Linked DNA regions of Homo sapiens: regions 1 and 2 are each linked to region 3. Evidence: promoter capture Hi-C in 16 types of primary human blood cells and fetal thymus (Javierre and others, 2016). All regions are on one chromosome and are shown on one strand. The core of a region is centred on a gene start or on the middle of the fragment in contact, and the rest is flanking DNA. Distances in the headings are between cores, read along the strand shown.

Region 1 (3,885 bases), core at 1,257-3,756, 180 kb after region 3:
AAGCATTATTTTCCAAAAACATAGGAAATCAAAATTATTGTTCAGTGTTTTCTTGTTTTGCTTTTCTAACTTATCTGAATTTTTTTTAAAAAATTGTTTTCTAGCTAAAGATTCCAGGCTTCAAGATCAGAGGCAGAACTCTCCTGCAGGGAATAAAGAAAATATTAAACCCAATGAAACATCACCTAGCTTCTCAAAAGCTGAAAACAAAGGTTAGAGTTTAAAGAGTCATTAAGCTTAACTGTAGGAATAGGAAGAAGTATGTCTAATTTCATGCCCATACAGAATATTTTTGTTCAACATTTCTTCTTACTATTGTGATAGATAAATGTATTGCTTGACAAATTCCAAAATCCAAATTTAATATTTGAAATTATTTTCTGATCTTATATCTTATTCTAATTTCTATCATCTCATACTAAAAAGAATGTGATGTTAAAGTTTAAAAATAAACCTGTGTCTTAACAGTTCTTAATTTTACAGGTATATCACCAGTTGTTTCTGAACATAGAAAACAGATTGATGATTTAAAGAAATTTAAGAATGATTTTAGGGTAAGTATTGTACTAACTGATGAATTTGAGTTTTAGAAAATAAGCATTACTAAAGATTTATCTATTTATAAAAATGCGTTATGTATACAGTCAGAAACATCAAACCATATATGTAGAAAGCAGAACATTTTTAAAGTGGTCTTTGCCTATCCTTTAAGTGGGATAACTAAAATCATGAGATTTGGTAACAACAATATGTAGGTATCAAATGAGAGTATAGCCCTGACATTTGAAACCACCATAGCACAGCTTACTATTTGATGGTCATTTGTACTTTGTTCAGTGAAGCTAGATATTAGTAGAGCAAGGCCAAGTCATTAATAATCTAGTGTGGCAAATGGAAGATGTACTGGACTCTGGTGTTCTGAGGTAGTTGGAGATTTATACTTTGTACACAAATATATTGTGGTCAAAATCTTTCTGTAACATTATTTCTCTGTCTTAGCACAGGCTTTACTTAACATCTCTCCTTGATTGTCATTTCATTCTTTTGCATGTTATTTACTATAGGTATCGAGGTAGATTTTGAGACCAACCAATAAATCTTCTTGAAACTTAGCTTCTTAGAAAGGAAAATCTAAATACCAGCCTTTTAAAAAAAGTAGCTGAATTAAAGGATGAGTGAACCAAAGGCAAAGGTAGCCTTTCCTCAGCCTGTGTTTTAGCTTTCTAAATGTTAACAATAGCTTCATTCTTGACTTATTGGTAACATTCAAAATACTACTTATTATTTCATACTTTAGCACATGTATCTATTCAGCTTTAATGCTATTAACAGTTGTTAACCTAAGTTTTCATTTGTTGGCGGGCACGGTGGCTCACACCTGTAATCCTAGCACTTTGGGAGGCCGAGGTGGGCAGATCACCTAAGGTCAGGAGTTCGAGACCAGCCTGGTCAACATGGTGAAACCCTGTCTTGACCAAAAATAGAAAAATTAGCTAGGCATGGTGGCGCACACTTGTAATCCCAGCTACTTGGCAGGCTGAGGCAGGATAATCGCTTGAACCCAGGAGACAGAGGTTGCAGTGAGCCGAGATCACACCACTCCACTCCATCCTGGGCGACAGAGCAAGACTGCATCTCAAAAAAAAAAAAAAAAAAAAAAAGTTTTTCAATTTGTTAAACAATAGTTAACACATACAAATGATACAAAGAATATTGAATATGATCATGTGCCCACTACCCAGCTTAGTAAATAAAGCATTCTAACACAGTTAAACTCCTCTTATGTATCTGCCCCTCCTCAGCTGCTTCCCCCTGTTTCCTTCCAAAAGGAAGGGTTTCTTTTCTGTGCAGTTCTTTATATTTATACTGCATATGAATATATCTGTGAGCAATAGATGATATTTTGCATAATCTTAAATTTGCTATAAAGTCTTTTTTTTTTTTTTAATTGATCATTCTTGGGTGTTTCTCGCAGAGGGGGATTTGGCAGGGTCATAGGACAATAGTGGAGGGAAGGTCAGCAGATAAAAAGTGAACAAAGGTCTCTGGTTTTCCTAGGCAGAGGACCCTGCGGCCTTCCGCAGTGTTTGTGTCCCTGGGTACTTGAGATTAGGGAGTGGTGATGACTCTTAACGAGCATGCTGCCTTCAAGCATCTGTTTAACAAAGCACATCTTGCACCGCCCTTAATCCATTTAACCCTGAGTGACACAGCACATGTTTCAGAGAGCACAGGGTTGGGGGTAAGGTCATAGATCAACAGGATCCCAAGGCAGAAGAATCTTTCTTAGTACAGAACAAAATGAAAAGTCTACCATGTCTACTTCTTTCTCCACAGACGCAGCAACCATCCGATTTCTCAATCTTTTCCCCACCTTTCCCCCTTTTCTATTCCACAAAGCCGCCATTGTCATCATGGCCCGTTCTCAATAAGCTGTTGGGTACACCTCCCAGACGGGGTGGTGGCCGGGCAGAGGGGCTCCTCACTTCCCAGAAGGGGCGGCCGGGCAGAGGTGCCCCCCACCTCCCGGACGGGGCGGCTGGCTGGGCGGGGGCTGACCCCCCACCTCCCTCCCGGATGGGGCGGCTGGCCGGGCGGGGGCTGACCCCCACCTCCCTCCCGGACGGGTTGGCTGCCGGGTGGAGATGCTCCTCACTTCCCAGACGGGGTGGCTGCCAGGCGGAGGGGCTTCTCACTTCTCAGACGGGGCGGCTGCCGGGCAGAGGGGCTCCTCACTTCTCAGACGGGGCGGCCAGGCAGAGACGCTCCTCACCTCCCAGACGGGGTCGCGGCCGGGCAGAGGCGCTCCTCACATCCCAGACGGGGCAGCGGGGCAGAGGCGCTCCCCACATCTCAGACGACGGGTGGCCGGGCAGAGACGCTCCTCACTTCCTAGACGGGATGGCGGCCGGGAAGAGGTGCTCCTCACTTCCCAGACTGGGCAGCCGGGCAGAGGGGCTCCTCACATCCCAGACGATGGGTGGCCAGGCAGAGACGCTCCTCACTTCCCAGACGGGGTGGCGGCCGGGCAGAGGCTGCAATCTCGGCACTTTGGGAGGCCAAGGCAGGTGGCTGGGAGGTGGAGGTTGTAGCGAGCCGAGATCACGCCACTGCACTCCAGCCTGGGCACCATTGAGCACTGAGTGAACGAGACTCCGTCTGCAATCCCGGCACCTCGGGAGGCCGAGGCTGGCAGATCACTCGCGGTTAGGAGCTGGAGACCAGCCCGGCCAACACAGCGAAACCCCGTCTCCACCAAAAAAATACGAAAACCAGTCAGGCGTGGCGGCGCGGGCCTGCAATCACAGGCACTAGGCAGGCTGAGGCAGGAGAATCAGGCAGGGAGGTTGCAGTGAGCCGAGATGGCAGCAGTACAGTCTAGCTTCGGCTCGGCATCAGAGGGAGACCGTGGAAAGAGAGGGAGAGGGAGACCGTGGGGAGAAGGAGAAGGAGGGGGAGGGGGAGGGGGGGAGAGGGAGAGGGACAATGATGTCTTGCTGTAGGTATTCTTCCCCATTTGAATTTTTTCCTCAGCATTATTTTTTTTAACATCATTCAGTCTCCTCTTATACTACACTTGGATTGAATTTAATATCTCATGAAGAAAAAACATTTCTACTTTGAAGCATGTGAATTAGCATGTTTTTATAACAGCTTTATTGAGATATAATTTACATATATAAATAAACCGTTTAAAGTGTATAAATCAGTGGTTTTTAATGAGATATAATTTACATATATAAATCAACCATTTAAAGTGTATAAATCAGTGGTTTTTAAAATATTCACAATGTTGTACAACCGTCTTCTCAGTTGATTTTAAAACATACTCTTCACCCCCAAAAGAAACCCCGTGCCCAGTTTAGCAGTCGTTCCACATTTGCC
Region 2 (3,632 bases), core at 282-2,781, 210 kb after region 3:
TCTGTCCAACTGTACTTTATTACCACTAGCTCCAGTTAACCAGTAATCTGCCTTCTTTTACTATAGATTAGATTTATCCTCTTTAGATTTCTTTTTCTTTTTTTTTTTTTGATTAGGTTTTTTTTTTTCTTTTTTTACGTAAAAAAATCTTTTTTTGGAGACGTCTCATTATATTGCCCAGGTTGGTCTCGAACTCTTGAGCTCACCTCAGCCTCCCAGAGTGCTAGGATTACAGATGTGAGCCACCTCAGCCAGCCCCTAGATTTTTTTTTTTTTTTTAATAAATGGAATCAAACAGCGTGTAACAGAGGTGTTCAATCTTTTGGCTTCCCTGGGTCATATTGGAAGAAGAATTGTGTTGGGCCACACATAAAATACAGTAACACTAATGATAGCTGATGAACAAAACAAAAAAAAATAGCAAAACTTATAATGTTTTAAGAAAGTTTATGAATTTGTGTTGGGCCACATTCAAAGCCGTCCCAGGACGCAAGTTGGACAAGCTTGGTATATAATTTCATATGTGTGTCCTAAACAGTGTAGTAATTTGAATTTCATGTTAGTATCAGCTTATTCCTTTTTGTTTGTTTGTTTGTTTTTGAGATGGAGTCTTGTTCTGTGTCCCAGAATTGGTCTGCAATTCCACTGCCTCAGCCTCCCAAGTAGCTGGGATTACAGGCACGTGCCACCACACCTGGCTAATTTTTGTCTCTCTCTCTTTTTTTTTTTTTTTTTTTTTTTTTTAGCAGAGACGGGATTTCACCATGTTGGCCAGGCTGGTCTCAAACTCCTGACCCCAAATGATCCACCTGCCTTGGCCTCCCAAAGTGCTGGGATTACAGGTGTGAGTCACCGTGCCCAGCCAGCTTATTCCTTTTTATTGCTGGGTAGCATTTCATTTTATGATTATACCACAGTTAATTTACCCATTACTAGTCGATGGGCATTTGAGTTATTGCCAGCTTTTGGCTATTATGAATGAAGCTGCTGTGAGCATTTGTGTACAAGTGTTTGTGTTTTTATTTCTTTTAGTTAAATACCTAGAATTGGAATTGCTGAGGTATGGTAAGTGCATATTTCATTTTTTTAAAAAATTTATTTTATTTTTTATTTATTTATTTTTTTTGAGATGAAGTCTCACTCTGTTGCCCAGGCTGGAGTTCAGTGGCGTGATTTCAGCTCATGGCAACCTCCCTGTCCCGGGTTCAAGCAATTCTCCCGCCTCAGCCTCCCAAGTAGCTGGGATTACAGGCGCGCACCACCATGCCTGGCTAATTTTTTTGTATTTTTAGTAGAGACGGGGTTTCACCACGTTGGCCAGGCTGGTCTCGAACTCCTGACCACAAGTGATCCACCCGCCCCAGCCTCCCAAAGTGTTGGGATTACAGATGTGAGCCACCACACACTGCCTGGTAAATACATATTTCAATTAATAAGAAACTAGCAATCTTCTAAAGTGATTGTGTCATTTTACATTCCAACTGATCAGGTACATGTGTAGGTTCCATGTGTTCTGCATCCTTGCCAACACTTGGTATTGTGTTATCTTTTTAATTTCAACAGGTCTAATGGGTGTCTTATGGTATCTCATTGTGATCTTAAATGTACATTTCTCTGATGATGACTGATCCAGGAGCACCTCATCATGTGTGTGTTTGTTTTCAGCTGTCAACCTTTTTTTAGTAAATGGTTCAAATCTTTTTTCCATTTTATTTATTTATTTATTTATTTGATGGAATCTCACTCTATTGCCCAGGCTGGAACGCAGTGGTGCCATCTTGGCTCACTGCAACCTCCGCCTCCCAGGTTCAAGCAATTCTTACGCCTTAGCCTCCCAAGTAGCTGGGATTACAGGCATGCGCCACCATGCCTGGCTAATTTTGTATTTTTAGTGTAGGTGGGGTTTCACCATGTTGGTCATGCTGGTCTCTAACTCCTGACCTCAGGTGATCTACCTGCCTCGGCCTCCCAAAGTGCTGAGATTACAGGTGTGAGCCACTGCGCCTGTCCTAATAATTTCTTTTTGTCTCAATGTTTCTGCCTGGGTGCACTGGCTCACGCCTGTAATTCCAGCACTTTGGGAGGCCAACCTGGATGGATCATTTGAGCCAACAGTTTGAGACCAGCCTGAGGAACATGACAAAACCCTGTCTTTGCAAAAAAAAAAAAGAAAAAAGAAAAATTAGCCAGGCACAGAAGCGCATTCCTATGGTCCCAGCTACTTGGGGGGCTGAGGTGGGACAATCGCTTGAGCGAGGTTGCGGGGGTTTGGAGGGCGATGGAGGGGTGATCGAGGTTGCAGTGAGCTGAGATTGCACTACTGCACTCCAGCCTGGGCAATAGAGCCAGACCCTGTCTCACAAAAAAAAGAAAAAAAAGTCATGTTTCTTTTCTTACTGTGAAAATAAAGTTACTACTTTTAGTAAATTATTTTAAGTTATTTATATATTCTGGTTACAAGTCCTTTCTCAGAATATTGTGAATATTTTCTCCCAGTCTGCGGTTTTTTTTGAAGAGCCAGTATTGTTAATTTTAATGAAGCCTTATTTATCAAGCTTTTCTCTTAAGGTTCATGCTTTTTTGTATCATAATAAGAAATCTTTTACGTACCCTAGGTTATGAATGTTTTTATGGTTAGGTATATGGTTGATTTCAGGTTAGGTTTTGTGTAGGGTGTGATGTAAAGGTCTAGCTTCATTTTCTCCACCATAAATATTTACTCGGTTTCTCTGGCACCAGCCTCTGTTTTCCATTGGTGGCTTTATTTTTTTTCTGTTCTTGAAACAAGAGTCTCGATCTTGTTACCCAGGCTGGAGTGCAGTAGTGTGACCTTGGCTCACTGCAACCTCCACTTCCCAGGGTCAAGCGATTCTGCCTCAGCCTCTCGAGTAGCTAGGATTACAGGTGCCCGCCACTACACCCAGCTAATTTGTATTTTTTTTTTTTTTTTTTTTAGTAGAGACAGGGTCTCACCATGTTGGCCAGGCTAGTCTCGAACTCCTGACCTCAGGTGATCTGCTCATCTCAGCCTCCCAAAGTTCTGGGATTACAGGCATGAGCCACTGCGCCCAGCCATAGTAGCTTTATTGAATTCAGTTGACTGTATTGTATGTGTGTCTATTTGTGAACTGTTTTGTTGTATTGATCTTTGTATATATCCTTATGCCAATTCTCTCTTTATTGCTGTTACTTTGTAACCAACCTTTAAGTTCATATGAGTCTCCCAGTTTTATTCTCGTCAAAATTACTCTTATTCTGCGTTCTTTGAATTTGCAAATAAATTTTAGAATCAGCTTGGGATTGTGCACTGAATCTTTATATCAGTTCTGGGAGAAATATCTTAACAATATGGAATCTTCATTGAGGTCATCATATACTGCTCCATTTATTTAAGTCTTAAGTTTCACCAGTGTTTTCTAGTTTTCTTTGTATCAGTTTTGTGCCTGCTTTCTTAAATTTATCCCTTAATATTTCATCTGTTTTGTGCTGTTGTGAGTTATATTTTAAAAACTTTCAACGTTTGTTTATTCGTAAATAGAGATGCACTTGATTTTTGAATATTGACCTTGTGTCTTGATGTGTTGGTAAACCCACTGTTTCTGGCAGCCCTTTAAGACTTAAACATACAATCA
Region 3 (3,419 bases), core at 417-2,916:
AGTAATATACTAAAAAAGTTCACAAGAGGTCTCATAGGTTTTATGCATACAGTATGTGTGTATGGTTTATGCACTTTCACATAACCCTGTGATTCTTCAACAGGGTTATGTTTTCTAACCCCAAGGAGACATCTGGAAAGGTCCAGAGACATTATTGGTTGTCACCACCTGGGGAGAGGTGCTACTGACATCTAGTGGGTCAGGCCAGGGATGTTTCTAAACACTCTACAATGCTCAGGACACCCCGCCCCCTTGCCAAAAACAAAAAAGAATAATCAGGACCCAAAATGTTAATAGTGCAGAGTTGAGAAACCCTGATTTAAACAGGGCATATGGAAACGTATTTCATAGGATGTAGTCACAAGATCTATATACGCATGTATCTTGTGGTCATGTCATAGTCCAGATACACACACATCTAGAACGCACTATGTCCACACACACACACATCTAGAATGTACTATGTACTTACATATGTATCATTATACAATGTACCTAGAGTAGCATCCTGTCATGTATGTGTCCCATATGCATTGATTGTGTCAGTATCTACATACAAAAGCCACTCTGACATACTGGAAAGAATGCTGAGCCTCAGAAAAGCTAATGTTATCTCCATATACATAATTCCATTTCATCCTCACAACTGCATGAGGACATGATATCATGCCAACTTTATGCAATGACTATACTAGTTCAAGACTGCACAACTGCTGATGTAGGTCAACCTCATAGTACGGACAGGAACTGTGTTTATCTTATACGCCAACGTATCTCAAGCATCCCAAGGGTGTCTAGACTCTCAGTAAACATTTGTGAAGTGACAGGGTGGGGAGGAGGACCCCGGTCTAACTGCAGCACTATGCTCGTAACCAGCAGATCACCATCTTTTCTCTCTTTTTTTTGAGACGGAGTTTCGCTCTTGTTGCCCAGGCGGGAGTGCACTAGCACTATCTCGACTCACTGCAACCTCCGCCTCCCGGGTTCAAGCGATTCTCCTGTCTCAGCCTCCCAAGTAGCTTGGACTACAGACGCGCGCCACCAAGCCCGGCTAATTTTTTGTATGTTCAGTAGAGACGAGGTTTCACCATGTTGGCCAGGTTGGTCTCGAACTGCTGACCTGAGGTGATTCGCCCGCCTAAGCCTCTGGGCTGGGATTACAGGCGTGAGCCACCGCGCCCAGCCAGATCGCTATCTGAACAGCGATCGACTCTCCACTCTCTACGGCCCCTTAGAAGGAACTTCACCTCTCTGAGCCTCGTTGTACCTATCTGTAAAGTGGGACAGAAACAAAACCATCCAGACTAGGGTTAGAGACAGGAGTCAAACACAACAAAAGGGGCAAAGTTCTGCATAGCAGATAGCTCGGACAATTCGGAGACCTCGCGGAGCCAGGGATCCCGCGCCGTCAGCCGAGGTGGATTAGGACGAGGCCTCTGGAGCAAGCAGAGGTTAACTCGCGACTGTGCGAAAACCTGCAGCTCAGCCTAAGTGTGGCACCCCAGCGCAAGCAATCTCCACGACGTCCTTCCGCTCCGACCTCCTCAAAATTGCGTCCGGAAGAGCAGTGGGTGACCCCTGCCACGCCGCCCAATCGCTGTGCGCGGTCCTGCGCGCATGCGTAAACCGCAGGTCAGCGACGGCGGCCGGGAGGCGGAAGTGGAGGTTGTTGTGGCTCCGAGGGCTGTTCGAGGAGCTGCTGCTGCTGAGGCGGCGGCAACTGCATTGAGGTGGTGGCGGCGCTGCCGGCCCCGGGCCGCTCGGCCTCTCGGCTCGCCTTCCAGCCTCGCCTGAGCCCGCCGGGGCCCGCGCCGGCCAGCGCCTGCCCTATGAGTGTGTCACTGGTTGTTATCCGATTGGAGCTCGCGGAACACTCGCCTGTCCCCGCCGGCTTCGGCTTCAGCGCCGCGGGTGAGTCCCGCGGCCTCGCCGCATTCCCTGTAGCCGGGTCTGGGCCCGGAGGGCTTCCCTTCCCAAAGCACTGGCCCGGGAAAAGCCCGCGGCGAGGGCTGTTGCCCAGGAAGACACGGAGAGGTAATCGGGATCCCTCTCTTTCCCATCCGCCTTTGAGAGGCCTTCCCGTTTGTTATCTCAGGGAAGCCCTGCCCCGAACCTCCCTCCCTGTGCCGTCTGAGGGCATTTAGTTTATACCTGGCGCGTCTCCCTCTCGAGATAGTCGAGTGGTGTGTTTGTCTCACTTGCTTCCCTATGGGCTTCGTAAAGGCAGGGACTGGGTCCCCAGCAACGCTGGACGGTCCCTGGGTTAATTAAATTGTTCCCTTTTGGAACGATATCCATTGAAGTGCCCCCTAACCATAGTCATAACTAAAATTTGGACACTTCCTATATCCCAGCACTGTACTAAGCACCTTTTGTGTATTGTATTCTTTAATTATCTTTGCAACAGCCCTAAGAGGCAGATGGATGTGACATGTACCTCTTACACATTGGGAAACTGAAGCTTAGTGATTAATTGATTTGCCCAAGGTTATCTGTAATGGGTGAAACTGGGATTCTAACTCAGTGAGCTGGACTTGAGTCTGAGCTTTTTACACCATTAACACAAGTGAGGAAGCTCCTTAGTGGGGAATGCAGCTCTGGCTCTGTTCCTTGGTCCTCAGATAATTAACTAACATTCATTCAAGAAATACTTGGCCGGGCGCGGTGGCTCACGCCTGTAATCCTCACACTTTGGGAGGCCGAGGCGGGCGGGTCACCTGAGGTTGAGAGTTCAAGACCAGCCTGGCCAACATGGTGAAACCCTGTCTGTACTAAAAATACAAAAATTAGCTGGGCGTGGTGACAGGTGCCTGTAATCCCAGCTACTGGGGAGGCTGAGGCAGGAGAATCGCTTGAACCCGGGAGGTGGAGGTTGCGGTGAGCCAAGATTGTGGCACTGCACTCCAGCCTGGGCGACAAGAGATAAAGTCCATTTCAAAAAAAAAAACAAAAAAAAAACTTATGCTCATATCTGCTGGAGCCTTCCTTGTGTGCTGAATCAGACAGCGTCTCTGTTTTAATGGCACCAGCAGTATCATGGAGGAAACAGATGAATTAAATAAGTGCAGAATATGTGTAGAATTACAACTGTGGTAAGTGCTGTGAAGGAAAGGAGAAACAATTTGGGAAAGTATTACAAGAAGATGTGTTTGGTTTGGAGAGAGGGATGGGGGCAGGTAGGGATGGTGTCATTGGGAACTTCCTGAGGACGTGACCTTTGAAGCTGCAAATTAAAGATTGAATATGACTTTATAGCTTATGAGCACCTTTCCAAAGGCTAAAAGTGGCTTCTGAGTTCTGAGAGTCAGCTAAATTGATATTAGCCGCATATAGACATCTGCATGGGTCAGTCATGTAGTCATTTATTCATCAAACATTTAGAGGGCTTCCTCTGTGTGCTCGGCACTGTGGTATAAGGG

The links. Contacts are between HindIII fragments. The CHiCAGO score rates a contact against its expected background, and 5 or more counts as called.
Region 1: a fragment that was not itself captured here is called in contact with the fragment with the promoter of BRAP in region 3 in 3 of 17 cell types (megakaryocytes, erythroblasts and endothelial precursors); the score reaches 7.4 in megakaryocytes.
Region 2: a contact is called between a fragment that was not itself captured here and the fragment with the promoter of BRAP in region 3, in 2 of 17 cell types (erythroblasts and megakaryocytes). The highest score is 6.4, in erythroblasts.

Annotation. Positions count from the first base shown.
Region 1 is chr12:111,506,218-111,510,102 of GRCh38, reverse strand. ATXN2 (ataxin 2) reads left to right here. Exons shown (of 25, transcript NM_001372574.1): 13 at 105-212; 14 at 484-554. Among named protein-coding and RNA genes, the nearest start is that of ATXN2, 91 kb to the left of the region's middle. The HindIII fragment of the contact is 4,535 bases long and covers 239-3,885 here.
Region 2 is chr12:111,476,503-111,480,134 of GRCh38, reverse strand. The region is part of intron 18 of ATXN2 (ataxin 2); the gene reads left to right. Among named protein-coding and RNA genes, the nearest start is that of SH2B3, 72 kb to the right of the region's middle. The HindIII fragment of the contact is 2,052 bases long and covers 506-2,557 here.
Region 3 is chr12:111,684,203-111,687,621 of GRCh38, reverse strand. It overlaps BRAP (BRCA1 associated protein), which reads left to right and starts at 1,666. Exons shown (of 12, transcript NM_006768.5): 1 at 1,666-1,911. The coding sequence starts at 1,830. It overlaps ACAD10 (acyl-CoA dehydrogenase family member 10), which reads right to left and starts at 1,569. Exons shown (of 21, transcript NM_025247.6): 1 at 1,383-1,569. RefSeq lists a silencer at 1,794-1,893 and enhancers at 1,238-1,939, 1,940-2,641, 2,642-3,343. The HindIII fragment of the contact is 2,811 bases long and covers 1-2,463 here.